Linked DNA regions of Homo sapiens: region 2 is linked to region 1. The links are contacts of gene promoters, found by promoter capture Hi-C in blood cells and fetal thymus (Javierre and others, 2016). All regions are on one chromosome and are shown on one strand. The core of a region is centred on a gene start or on the middle of the fragment in contact, and the rest is flanking DNA. Distances in the headings are between cores, read along the strand shown.

What was found. Contacts are between HindIII fragments. The CHiCAGO score rates a contact against its expected background, and 5 or more counts as called.
Region 2: a contact is called between a fragment that was not itself captured here and the fragment with the promoter of BAIAP3 in region 1, in 2 of 17 cell types (endothelial precursors and naive B cells). The highest score is 5.4, in endothelial precursors.

What each region holds. Positions count from the first base shown.
Region 1 is chr16:1,328,003-1,335,043 of GRCh38, reverse strand. It overlaps BAIAP3 (BAI1 associated protein 3), which reads right to left and starts at 1,399. Exons shown (of 34, transcript NM_001199097.2): 1 at 1,295-1,399. It also overlaps the pseudogene RPS20P2. RefSeq lists silencers at 1,350-1,509, 2,245-2,445 and an enhancer at 3,222-3,271. The HindIII fragment of the contact is 32,270 bases long and covers 1-7,041 here.
Region 2 is chr16:1,693,409-1,700,290 of GRCh38, reverse strand. JPT2 (Jupiter microtubule associated homolog 2) reads right to left here. Exons shown (of 5, transcript NM_144570.3): 4 at 2,431-2,479; 5 at 1-1,480. The coding sequence ends at 1,293. Among named protein-coding and RNA genes, the nearest start is that of MAPK8IP3, 9.3 kb to the left of the region's middle. The HindIII fragment of the contact is 5,342 bases long and covers 155-5,496 here.

The sequences.
Region 1 (7,041 bases), core at 150-2,649:
GAGCAGAGGCTGGGTCAGCCTTCCTCCCCAGTGCAGGCTGTCTAGGAACAAACGCCTTCAACGTGTTGGGGGCGCCCTTCTTACCACATTTGGGGCAGGGGGTTAGCTGATGGTGCCCTGGGTGTGTGCCTGGGGCGGGAGGTGGCAGGACATCTGCCCCACAGGCTGGCTCTCCACGCTGCCCTCTTGGTCTTCTCTCCAGCTTCCCTGCTCTTCCTCCCTCAGCCCCCCGACTCCCCTTCACCAGGCCCTGGGGGTTTCCCGCAGGAATCTCTCCCTGGTCTCACCGACTCCTCCAGATGGCCCCTGCGAAGCCGATGGCGGTGCCCAGGTGCAGGTCACCTGGCGGGCCCGCTGCAAACGCTGCTCCCCGGGGTCTCATTCCAGTCGAACCCCGGGAATCTGCATTCTAACAAGCGCTGCCGGTGGCCTTGGGCTCCCCGAAGCCTCAGACGGCTGCCAAGGTCCAGCCGCTGGCGCCCAGCAGGAGCGCAGGAGACCGGAGCCCGAGGCGCCTTCTTCCTCCCCTCGCCCGTGTCTGCGCAGCGCTCCCTCCTCCCTCTGCTCACCGACCCCCTCCCTGCCCCGCCTCGCGGCACCCCCTTTCCCGGGGCCCCGGGCGCCCGCAGGAGCCACACCCCCAGTTCTATGGGGGTCTCTCCCCTCGGAGGGGGCGGGCGGTCCGGGGTGAGTCTGGGGGCGGGTCTAGTGTGTCACTTTAAACTCCTCCCCCGGAGACCCCGGCCCAGGCAAGAGCCCACAGCCCTTTGCCGAGTGGGGCTGAAGGAGGGGCCGCTTTGCACTCGCAGGGATTTCGGGGGGACTAAAGGGCCTTACGAGGACCTGCGGGAGGAGGGAAGGGACGAGGACGCTGGGGGGTGCAGCCCGCCCGGGAGGGGTGCTGGGAGGCCCCGGGCCCGTCTGCTCCCCCGGGGAGGGAGGCGCGGGGGTCGAAGCCTCGCTTGGCGGCTCAAGTGCGGGGGAGGCCGTCGCCAGCGCCCGGATACCCTCCCCGTCCGCTCCGCAGTGCGGACCCCACCGCCGCACCCTCTCCTGCGCGTTCGGAGGGGAAATGCCCCCGAGACCCCGCCCCTCCAAGCATGCGCGGCCTCAGTTTCCCCAGGGCCGAGGGGACGTCGAGACCTTCCCACCGCCCCCCGCCTCGGAGGCCACCCCCGTGCCTCCTGGGGGACCCGGACCAAGGGGGCGGCGGCCGTCGGTCCGTCCGGGTTGGGGCGCGGGGCCGAGCCCAGACGGCGGCCCAACAGCACTGGCCGCAGCCCGCGGCACTTACCGTGGGCCGGCGCGGGGATGGGGGGGCTCCTGGGGCGCTGCGCTCGGCACCAGCTCGGGGACGCCGAGGCACAGCTACCGCTCCCAGCCGCGCGCGCCGACGACTGAGCAACTGCTGGGCGGACGCCGCTGCGGGGGCGGGGTCTGACTGGGGGCGGGGCCGGGCCTGACCGGGGCGGGGCCTGACCGCGCTCGCCCCGCCCCCCGCGTCCACGGCGCCTTAGGGGACCCGGCCGGGGTCTCCGTGCCTTGAGCCGGGCCGGAGCCCCCTCCCCCGGGATGCGGGGCTGTGAGTCAACCCACAGGTGGCTGCGGGACGGGGAGCGGGCTTGGCTGCCTCGGGACCCCGCCTGGCCGCGCGCGCCCTCCCCGTGGCGCGTGGGGTCTAGAAGGGGGTGGTCGGCGGGGTCTCCTCCGCGGACCCCAGGGAAGCCACGGTCACGAAGACCAGCAGCGGTGCAGACCTTTCTGGAAGGGCCTGACTCAGGGACACCTCGCGGGCCCCGCCGCTCTCTTCTCGGGGCGGGGATGCGTCCTGCAGGGATCCACTCGGGACGCCCCACGCCCACGCGGACGGTCTGTGGGGCGATCGTCCCTGGGGCTCTGGTGAGGGCCCAGTTGGCGCTTGTGGGGTCACAGCCGGCCAGAGCCCCCGGAGCCCCTGGGGTCTGCACTGGACCCCGCCAGCCCCTCCCGGGTGGCTCCCCGCTCTTCCTCCGCTGCGCTGTCCTGGAACCCCAGCGGGCCCGCGGTCTCCTGCAGGGTTTGTTAAGGCATTGATGGGTCCTGTCCCCAACCCGCTGGTCCCGAAGTCTGGGTGGGGGCGCGATCTGCGTTTTTTCCCTTTTTTTTTCAGACAGAGTCTCGAAAAAGCTCTCAAAAATAGCTCTCAACCAGGTTGGAGCGCAGTGGCACCATCTCCACTCGCTGCAACCTCGAACTCTCCGGCTCAAGTGGTCCTCCCGCTTCAGCCTCCCCAGTAGCTGGGACCACCCGCCGGCTAATGTTTTTTGGTTTCTTTTGTGGAGATGGGGGTCTCCCTATGTTGCCCAGGCTGGTCTCAAACTCCCAGGCTCAAGGGATCCCCCTTCCCCGGCCTCCTAAGGCGCTGAGATCACAGGTGTGGTCCCCACGCCAGCCAGCGCCTGCACTTCCCAGCTCCAGTCTGCTGCCGCCAGTCCAGGGACCACACTTTGAGAAGTCCGTGCTAAGCATGGTCCTGTCGGGGGCCTGAGGCTCTCAGACTTGCCGAGGGCGCAGCGGCCCCCCGGTCGCACCTGCCCTTGGTCGAATACAGCTGGACACTCGCAGCCCTTTGGGGACAAGGGGTGGGGGGTGGTCAGACTTTGGAGTTTTCACCCGAAGGGCACCTGGGCAGCCCAAGGCCAGACAGGCTTCCAGAACACAGCTCTTCAAAGGGAGGGGGCCCGTCTGCCAACAACTGTCTTGGCTTCTGGATCCCAACTCACTCAAATCCATGCCCGCCCCACACCTGTCTGTGCAGGATCGGGGGCAGGACCCCTGGGTGGGCTCTCCTTCGGGACGCTCGGCCCAGGCTCTGCCGGATCCTGACCCAGCACAGCCAGGCCGGTGGGGGAGGGCAGGGAGCTTGCAGGAAATGCAGGGACTGGCTGGGACAGGGACGCGGTGGGGGAAGCAGGGGAGGGGGCCTGGGCCCTCAGCCCCACTCTGTAGCAGTGTTCTCCTGAGGGGCTGGTGGGTCTGGAGACCGGGTCTGGGAGTGACGCCCCTGCCTCTGCGGTCTTGCACCAGGTTCTGCCCACCTGTTGGAACAAACACAGGCCGGTTGCCATGGTGATCACACTGGCTTTAAGTGAAGGGACAGGCTCTGCAGCTACGGTAAACAGGAAGTTGGGAGGGGCAGCCGCTGCTCCGGCCCCTACGAGAGCACCAACCCTGAAACCAACACTGCAGTCCGTTGGGTGCGGGAGCACCCTTGGAGACCTCTCCCCACTCTTTTCTAGGTAGGGAGACTGGAGTCCGGAGACGGGAAAGGGCTTTTCCAGGGCCACATAGTGATAGGTTGAGTCCCAAACCAGCCCTGGGCCTCCGTTTCCCCAGGAGAGGACGGTCACTAGGACTGTCCCCTCCACAAACATTTGGTGAGGAGTCGAGGAATGAACGATCCGAGCGACACCCCACTCAGTGACCAAGGCCTTCATTCTCCAACTTGTTCTGAGGCTGAAGACAGGCTGACCTGGATCAAAGTCCCAGCACCCTGCTCACCCCTGCCCCAGGGCGACCCTCCACTGCCCGGGCCTCAGTTTCCCTCTTCTGTAAAATGGGGACAACAGCAGCACCCACCTTGGGTGCAGCTGGGGGACCTCAGTGAGCCAGTCTCAACTCACAGCAGGTCAGCCTCAGTCCCAGTTGGTGGGGATGGGAACTGCAGCCACCCAGCCAGAACTCCGGCCCCTCCAGTGACCCAATTTACCTTTCCATAGCTTGGGGCTGGAAGCCCATCCTCGCGTGAGTCCCCTCCCACTAAGAGAGAGGGCAGGAGAGTGGGCCGCCCACCCTCCCCACCCTGAGCCCCAGGCCTCACTCTGAAGGGGCTACCCTGGCGTCTCTGCCTTCGGACCGGAGTGCAGACAGCTGCCGTGCTCCGGGGACAGTGAGGGGATGGCGCAGGTGCAGGAACACCTCCCACCGATGTGTCGGGACACGAGACCCCCTGCCCAGACGGGGTCAGAGCTTGAGGAGGCTGCTGGGGCACCAGGGCTGCTTGTGCAAAGCTGAGAAAAGCCATTTTTCAAGCCTGGCTCTTTTCACATTCTCAGGACTTTGTGCTGGAAAGGGTCTGGCAGGCAGGGAGAGTAGCTTTTCCTCCTTAGGGCCGGGCCGGTGGCGGGGGGCGGAGATGGGGGGGCAGGTAAAAACACCAGGCTCTGGATACGCAGGCGCCAAAGCCGCTGAAGCACACAGGTGAGGCCATGGCAGAGTTAGACAGCCCCTCCTGTTCCACGCTCATGAGCACAGCGCAGGGCCCAGTGCTACCACCCTCTGGTGGCAGCCCTAGAAATTGCAGGCACAGCCTCCCAGAATCTGCCCCCAACTTCCCTCTGAGGACCCAAGCAAGGAAGGGCAGGGTCCTTGGAGAGCTCGTGGGGTCAGAGCCCAGGGACTCTGGCCAGGGACCCTGCCTGCCCCGGAGCTGGAGGACCCTGAAGACTGCCAGAACCTGTTCCTTGCCCCATCAAGAGAGGGGCTCTGGGTGGGAGGGCCTCAGCCCAAGTCTGGCCTCATGCCTGAGATGCTGGTCTCCAGATCCCACACCAGAAGCTCCGGGAGTCCTGCTGCCACGCGTGCACAGGTGGGGCCGGCTGGAGGTGACCACCCAGTGTCACGCTGGAGTTCTCTCAGGCCTCCGTGCTAGTAGCAGCATCTGTGAGGGGTCCAGGGCAGGGCAGGGACAAAGAAGTGGGCCCAAGACAGGGTCCTACCAAGCCCCCAAACAAAGGCCATTGGTGTGCCAGAGCCCTGCAGGCAGGACAGCCCCTGCTGCGGTGAGGCTTGGATGGCAGGGAGGATGGCACCCTGTCCCCTGGCCCCGCCTCCCACCAGCCTGAGGGTGGGGGTGTCAGAGGCCCCTTCCCAGCGAGATGGGCTTCTGTGCTCACTGTGGTTAGGGGCCCAGCAGGGAGAGGCCAGGCCCTCAGTGTGCATCCTTCTGTGCAGAGCTGGGGTTGGGAGGCGACTCCTCCCAGCTCTGGGGGCTTCAGAGTCCCTCCTTTTCTTTTTTTTTTTTGAGATGGAGTCTTGCCCTGTTGCCCAGGCTGGAGAGCAGTGGTGTGATTTCGGCTGTAACCTCTGCCTCCTGGGTTCAAGTGATTCTCCTGCCTCAGCCTCCCGAGTAGCTGGGACTACAGGCGCCCGCCACCATGCCCAGCTGATTTTTGTATTTTTTTGTTTTTTTTTTTCAACTGGTAATCAATTTATTAAAATAGTTGACTTAAGCATCTGCAATGGTGACTTCCACTTCAACTCCTGGCTCAATACTGATGGAAGTAATCTGCTTAACAATCTCAGAAGGACTGTGCAAGTCAATGAGTTGCTTATGGATGCTCATCTGGAGTTTTTTTTTTTATAAGTTTTTTTTTGAGATGGAGTCTTGCTCCGTCGCCCAGACTGGACTGCAGTGGCGCGGTATTGGCTCACTGCAAGCTCTGCCTCCCAGGTTCACGCCATTCTCCTGCTTCAGCCTCCCAAGTAGCTGGGACTACAGGCACCTGCCACCATGCCCAGCTAATTTGTTTGTATTTTTAGTCGAGATGGGGTTTCACTGTTAGCCAGGATGGTCTCAATCTCCTGACCTCGTGATCTGCCCGCCTCGGCCTCCCAAAGTGCTGGGATTACCGGCGTGAGCTGTAACCTGGCCTCATCTGGAGTTTTTCTTGTAGTGATTCTCAAAGTGTTGGTAGGATTCAAACCGGTCCTTTCACTTTGAGATTCTTTTCCTTTGTGCCTCTGATCAAGTCAGCACACACCTTTTCAAGTGATTTTATGCTGTAGCTCGTTAGAGTGATTCAGATTTGGTGAATTTTGGTGAATTTGGTGAATTTGGCGAATTTGGTGAATTTTGGTGAATTTGGTGAATTTTGGTGAATTGCCATCTCCGGCTCCTTGGGTGTTTTTCTGGTATCCTTAAAAGCCAAAAGAATTTTTTAGGCCGGGCGTGGTGGCTCACACCTGTAATCCCAGCACTTTAGGAGGCCGAGGTGGGCGAATCACGAGGTCAGGAGTTCGAGACCAGCCTGGCCAACATAGTGAAACCTCGTCTCCACTAAAAATACAAAAATTAGCCAGGTGTGGTGGCGTGTGCCTGTAGTCCCAGGCACTCGGGAGGCTGAGGCAGAAGAATCGCTTGAACCCGGGAGGTGGAGGCCGCAGCGAGCCGAGATCGCCCCACCACACACCAGCCCGGGCGACAGTGTTAGACTTCGTCTCAAAAAATAAATAAATTTTTAAAAAATAATAATAAAGCCATAGCTGCTGCGTGGCTTCCTGACCAGCTTGTTCCTTGGCGAGAGCGGACAGTGGTGAGTCAGGAGCAGGAGCGTGCGGATCAGCGATTCACAGCACCTACCACCACGTCTTCCTCAAAGGGCTAATTTTTGTATTTTTAGTAGAGACAGGGTTTCACTATATTGGTCAGGCTGGTCTTGAACTCCTGACCTTGTGATCCATCCGCATCAGCCTCCCAAGGTGCTAGGATTACAGGCATGAGCCACCGCGCCCGGCCTAATTTTTGTATCTTTAATGGAGATGGGCATTTGCCATGTCGGCCAGGCTGGTCTTGAACTCCTGACCTCAGGTGATCCTCCCAACTCGGCCTCCCAAAGTGCTGAGATTACAGGCGTGAGCCACCGCGCCCGGCCTCAGAGTCCCTCCTTAAACGCACAGCCCAGGCTCGGGAGGCCGAGGCAGGAGAACTGCTTGAACCCGGGAGGCGGAGGTTGCAGTGAGCCGAGATCATGCCACTGCTCTCCAGCCTGGGCGAGAGAGTGAGACTCCATCTCTAAATAAATAAATAAGGCACAGCCCGCATCGAGGAGTGGGAACTTGCCTTATTCGGCGGAGGGCATCCTGGAGGAAGGGCAGAGGCCCAGGGAAGGAAGAGCCCAAGCCACACGTGCTCGGTGGTTTTCTTGTGCCTGTTCCTATTTCTTCCTAAGAGCCGGATAAGCCGATCTCCTGGCAGGTGCAGAAGCCTTTGGACCAGGCTGG
Region 2 (6,882 bases), core at 1,576-4,075, 360 kb before region 1:
CCACCACCTTTGCCATCCCATTAGCTGAGTGAGCAAAGCTCAGGGAATTGGACAGGTGTGACTTTGCTACTGAACTCCTTCATCTCCTGGCCTAAGGTCTCTAGTCTCTTCTGGAAGCTTGTTTGTGAGTTAGATCCAGAAGTTCTATAAAGCTTTGTAGAGGGTGGCCTCCACAGCTCTTCTTCCTCTTTGGTGTACCTGAACAATTGACTTTTTTCTGGAAAGGTGTCAGAAACAGACCAGAGTCAACAATCATTTATGTAAAGCTGGTATTTAAAATTTAGCTTTTTAGATATTATTAAAGAATCCAAACCTAAGAACCCAAGGTTCCCAAGCATCTCTTCTTTCCACCAACCAATTAAGGAATAAAGAAAGACACAGGAAGAATTTAAACAAGCCACTTACTCGGAAATATCTGAATAGATTTTTAAAGTCCCGCAGAGGTCAGCGGGCCTCATTTATGGGAAGAACTGTGACTTGTGAAGGGAACTGTCTACATCACTGGAGAACAACAAACGCCTAAACTTAAGGCTGATGAGAGGAAAAAAGCAAGAATTCACAAGCAAAACTGGCATGTAAAGGACCAAGACCAGCCCTGTGTGAAAGACAGGCAGATTCCAACATGAGATCAGATCAGGCCGAGGTTTCAGATGGCAGGAACTGGGCACTTCAGAGGGTCAGGGCACCAAAACAATCTTCCATGAAGTAGAAGACGGATAACTATTATTATTTGGTTTTTTGAAAGCTGCCGAGGAAAAGCAATCAAGATGTTTCAAGAAAAGACTACAGAACAATATGCTGGGGGTAAAATGAAGTGGGGATGCTGGATTTAGCAGCCGTGATCTCCAGAATGGAAGCGGTTCTGCTAAGAGGTCAATATACTGTTAGTGTTTCTGCTTACGCCTCCTCCATCCCACAGCAGCAGTGGACAGGCTGTTTTGGTTTCTTTCAGTCATTCCTAGACATCCAATCAGCTGGCGGGCTGTTGATCCAAGGACCATGCCCTGCCCCACCTCCCCACCCTCACCCCCCTTCCAGTTCCTCTCAAACCTGGACTACACATGAGTGATGGCCAGGGGTGCCCCATTTCATCCCCACAGAGGCATCTCCCAGCCATCTGGAAGGCACGGGTCTCCAAGCAGCTGTCATGACGGCCAGGAGACGCTGAGCAGCCAGGCTCACATAAGACTAACCCTCTTCCCACCCCGCTCATTTGGGCAAAAGGAAATGAAAACATGGCTACCCTATCTCTTGAGTTTCTGGTCTGGCTCCGGGTGGAGCAGTGGCTTCTCTTAGTAGAAGGAGATGCTGGATTTGCCTCCCGGTGGGTTCAGGACCTTGTTGTGAGAGCGAGGCCGCGGCCCCAGCCGGGGCTCATGGCTGTCGACTGTGGGCATGGGCTCCTGCTCCTTGGCGGGGCCTGCTTTTCTGGCGCTGCCTTTCTCACCTGGCTCTGCTCCAGCCGGGATGCTCCTTGCAGCTGTGGGACACAAAGTTAGAACAACATCCCATTAGAGGCAACCCATGACCCTGACAGGCAGGCTGTGGAAATAAAAAGTGTGTCATAGAGCAACCTGCAAGAAATTCATGCTGTAACTGGGAAAGAGAAGACAATATAGACAGGCTTTTCATCTGGTACCAAAACAACTCACTGTAATTAGCAGATGCAGTTTTGAAATGGGCATAAAGTTGGGGCTTGCTACTGTAAATACTCCTTGATTTCTTCCTAAGTGAATTGTTTCTTTATATTGCTTGTTAGACACCACTCCCATTTCTTCCATCTCAAGTATAGAAAGCAAGCCCCTGAGAGTGACCATGAGGCGGCGAGGGAATGCATCCTAGGTGAGGGCTTAGCAAGGCAAAGGCAGGCTCTGTTGCTGTTACCCTGGGCTTTTCAAAGGTGAATGAAATCCCACAAATCTTGGTCATTAGTTAAGGGAAATGGAGACCCAAAGGCAGAAACCGATGCCCATGGTCAGGCTAAAGAGCCGTGGGGAGAGTCGAAGTCTGCCGCTCAACCTGAGCAGTGGCTCACTCCCCCGGGGTGACTCACCATGGAGACACCCGCCTCCCCATCCTCCATCCCTCTCTTGTGCCCCTCTCTTCTCGATTAGTTCTGCCAGCTCTATGCTTGGTCATGAGTTCACTGAAGGTTTGGGATCCCTGCCCATCACTACACAGATGAGCTTCTAGGAGACGACCCCATGGCCCTGGGCCTAGGCTGATGAGCAAGACAACCAAGTCCCAGGGTTTCACCCTAGCCTTCTTCAAATGCTGAATCCTCTTGCAGTGGATACACCTGAGCTCGTTTTAATCAGGTGGCCCAGAAGGTGCAAAGAAAGACTCCTTTTCATTCCCAGAGGAGAGACTAGCAACTCTTCCAGAAATAATGAGGCCACTCAGGAGAAGGGAAAGAAAACAAAAGCTCACCTTTAAGATCCGATTTTGGTTCTTCTCCTTCACATAAGAAAACATGATCCTGCAACAAGGCAAACCACCAAATCAGGACTCACTCAGAAAATTTTACCCTCATTCAAATGGACAATGAAAATCAGGACCATATAACCTTTTAATTTACAAAAATGCTTGTATATCTGACCTCAGGACCCCCCCAATCCTCTACAGACTATTCTGAAACAAACCTGATATTTCATTTATCCATACATATTTCAAGATGTAGCTCTTAAAACATCCTTTAAAAAATAACAGTAGCACCCTCAAAACTGCGAATATTAATGATTCCTTAAATATCAAAGTCAATTTTTTTTTTTTTTTTGGAGACAAGAGTCTTGTTCAGTCATTCAGGCTAGAGTGCGGTGGCATGATCTTGGCTCACTGCAGCCTCTGCCTCCTGGGCTGAAGCGATCCTCACATCTCAGCCTCCCGAGTAGTGGGGACTACAGGCGTGAGCCACCACACCTGGCTAATTTTTCTATTTTTTGTAGAGACAGGGTTTTGCCACGTTGCCCAGCTCATCTCAAACTCCTGGACTCAAGTGATCTGCGTGCCTCAGCCTCCCAAAGTGCTGGGATTATAGGCGTGAGCCACTGTGCCCAGCCTCAAAGTCAAATTTTTAAATACTGGCATAATATTTCATCCATGCTGTAATATTTCATCCATAATAATTTCATCCATGCTGTAGCGTGTGTCAATGCTCCATTCCTTTCTATGGCTGAGTAATATTCCATTGTATGGACAGACCACATGTTGTTTACCCATTCATCTGTTGATGGACAAATGAGTCATTCCCGCCCTTGGGCTACTGTGAATAATCCTGGTGCAAGGATCTAGTGTTTGACTCCTTGTTTTCAAATCTTGTGAGTACGTACTTAAGAGTGGAATTATTCGGTCATATGGTAATCCTGTTTAACTCTGAGGAACTGGCAGTATCCACAGCCACTGCACCATCTTCCAATCCCACTAGCAATGCACGAGGGCTCCAGTTTCTCTGCATCCTCACCAACTCGTATTTTCCATTTTTACATCACACCATCCGAACAGGCATGCACTGGCATCTCACGGGTTTCTGATGTGCATGTCCCCAGTTATTAATAACACTGACCATCTTTTCGGGTGGTTTTTGGCTGCTTGTATCTCTTCTTTGGAGAAATGTATATTCAAGTCCACTACCATTTTTGAATTGGGTTTGTTATTTCGTTGTTGAGTTGTAGGCATTCTTTATGTATTCTGGATAGTAACTCCTTATCAGAAATGATTTGCAAATATTTCCTCCCATTCTGCGAGTTATCTTTTCACTTTTTTTTTTTTTTGACACGGAGTCTCACTCTGTTGCCCAGGCTGGAGTGCAGTGGCGCAATCTCGGCTCACTGCGCCCTTTGCCTTCTGGGTTCAAGCAATTCTCTTGCCTCAGCCTCCAGAGTAGCTGGGAGTACAGGCGCCCAGCTACTTTTTTTGTATTTTTAGTAGAGACGGGGTTTCACCATGTTAGCCAGGATGGTCTTGATCTGACCTCGTGATCCGCCTGCCTCAGCCTCCCAAATTGCTGGGATTACAGGTGTGAGCCACTGTGCCCAGGCTTTTTTGTTTGTTTTTTGTTTTTTTGAGACAGAGTCTCATTCTGTCACTCAGGTTGGAGTGCAATGGCGCAGTCTCAACTCATTGCAACCTCAGCCTCCCAGGTTCAGTTGATTCTTCTGCCTCAGTCTTCCGAGTACCTGGGATTACAGGCATCCACCATCATGCCCGGCTAGTTTTCGTATTTTTAGTAGACATGGGGTTTCACCATGTTGGCTAGGCTGGTCTCGAACTCTTGACCTCAGGTGATCTGCCCACCTCGGCCTCCCAAAGTGATGGGATTACAGGTGTTAGCCACTGTGCCTGGCCTGTTTTCATTCTTTATAGTGTCCTTTGATGCACAGAAGTTTATAACTTTAATGAAGACCTATTTATTTACTTATTTTTTCAGACAGTCTTGCTTGTTGCCCATGCTGGAGTGCAGTTGCATGATCTTAGCTCACTGCAACCTCTGCCTCCTGGGCTCAAGTGATCCTCCCAACTCAGCCTCCTGAACAGCTGGGACCACAGGTGTGCACCACCATGCCCGGGTAATTTTTTGTATTTTTGTGGAGAAGGGGTTTTGTCATGCTGCCCAGGCTGGTCTCAAAATCCTAGGCTCAAGCAATCTGCCTGCTTCAGCCTCCCAAAGTGCTGGGGTTATAGGCATGAGCCACTATGCCTAGGCTTTTTATAATTTTTTTGAGACAGGATCTCATTCTGTCACCCAGGCTGGAGTGCAAATGGCAAAATCACTGCTCTCTGCAGCCTTGAACAACTGGGCTCAAGCAATCTTCCCACCTCAGCCTCCCAGGTAACTAGGACCACAGGTGCACGCAACCATACGCAACTGATTTTTTTTTTTTTTTTTGGGACGGAGTTTCGCTCTTGTTGCCCAGGCTGGAGTGCAATAGCACGATCTCAGCTCACTGCAACCTCCACCTCCTGGGTTCAAGCGATTCTCCTGCCTCAGCCTCCCGAGTAGCTGAGATTACAAGCATGTGCCACCAGGCCCGGCTAATTTTATACTTTTAGTAGAGACGGGGTTTCTCCATGTTGGTCAGGCTGGTCTCGAACTCCCGGCCTCAGGTGATCCGCCTGCCTCGGCCTCCCAAGGTGCTGGGATTACAGGCATGAGCCACTGTACCCAGCCCCCAGCTAGTTAAAAAAAAGTTTTTTTAGAGTTGAGGTCTCTCTATGTTGTCCAGGCTGGTCTGGAACTCCTGGGCTCAAGTGATTCTCCCACCTTGGCCTTCCAAAGTACTGGGATTACAAGTGTGAGACACCATGCACGGCCCAATTTATTTTTAATTTTGTTGCCTCTGTTTTTGGTGTCATATCTAAACCTCCATTGCCAAATCCAGGGTCATGAAGATTTGTCCCTATATTTTCTTCTAAGAATTTTATAGTTTTTGCCCTTAACTTTAGGTCTTCGATCCATTTTGAGTTCATTCTTGTGTATGGTGTAAGAAAGAGTAAGCTTTTATCCTTCTGCATGTGCATATGCAATTGTACCAATGCCATTTGCTAAAGAGACTGTTCTTTCCCCACTGGATGATCTTGGCACCCTTGTGAAAAAAAAAAAAGCCCTTTGGAAGGCTTTATTTCTCAGTTCTCAACTTGACTCCACTGGTCAGTGTGTCTGTCTTCATGCCAGTGCCATGCTGTTTGGATTACCGTTGCTTTGCAGTAAGATTTGAGAGCAGGAAGTAAGAGCTCCAACATCTTTTTCAATTATTATTATTTTTGGATACTTGGGGTACCATGAAATTCCATATGAATTATAGGACTTTTTTCCCATTACAGAATAAAACACCATTAGGACTCTTATAGGGCTACATTCTTGTCTCTCTTTAATCCTCAGGACCTCCCTCTATTCTCGTCATGTTGTTTCCTATGTAAGCCATTGTTCTGAGCGCAGCTCTGTGGTGTTAATTAATATGTGGCTTGGTCTGATTTGAGCTTGATTTTTTTGACGAAACAGCGTCAATGGGGGCCCATGGTGGATTTCCATTCCCAGGCCCATAAGTGTTGGTTCTCTCTCATTTTGTGATGTTAACGGCCACTGATGAACATTTTCTCAGATCCACGATTTCAGTACAAGTTTATAAAACAGTGATATTCTAATTCCTTTATTCCTTCTTCACTTACATCCCAGAAACTTTTATAAAAGGGAACTTTCTTTCAACAGCTGCTATCCTAACACACACTTCATGCAGGAAATGCTGGCTAAATGCCCCCTTCTGTCATCTGCCCGCTTTCGCAGTGACGAGCCGGTCCTCCAGCATTCTCCCAAGGTCGTAAATTACATTACTTTTAGTATCAATAGGAAGCCGGGAATTCTGAACAGTTGGTGAATTTAAATCCACTGCAATTATTTCACTTTTTGATAATCAAATGGTCCCATCTCTGGCCCCATGGCTGCTCTTCACCTTGTTCCCCAAGTCCTCTGACACCACCCTAGCAGCCTGTAAGGGCTTCCTCATTTTCTGGCATTACGAGATATTCTACGCTTATTTTGTATATTCCCTGACCCTGACCTGGAATTAGTCATTTCTCTGGTGATGCTAGCGATGTCCAATGGTCCTGGACCAAAAGAACTTTATTAGAAAATCAAAGAAAGCTCTACTCTGTTTCCACTTGTTCTATGCCCAGTTGTACTGATGTCCTACAGTCCTCTACCTGATCTACGTTCACTGGAAAGTGTGAGTCTCAGCAGGAAGCACCTTGCTCTCGTGTCCGGCTAATTCGAGTGCTTTACGTAGTAGAGGAATTGCTGACTTTTGGGACATTTCTGGTCTTGCCAAAGTTCACCTTGTAGTAAAGCCCCCAAAGATACTTCCCAAATAGATGCTCTCTTGAAAATAA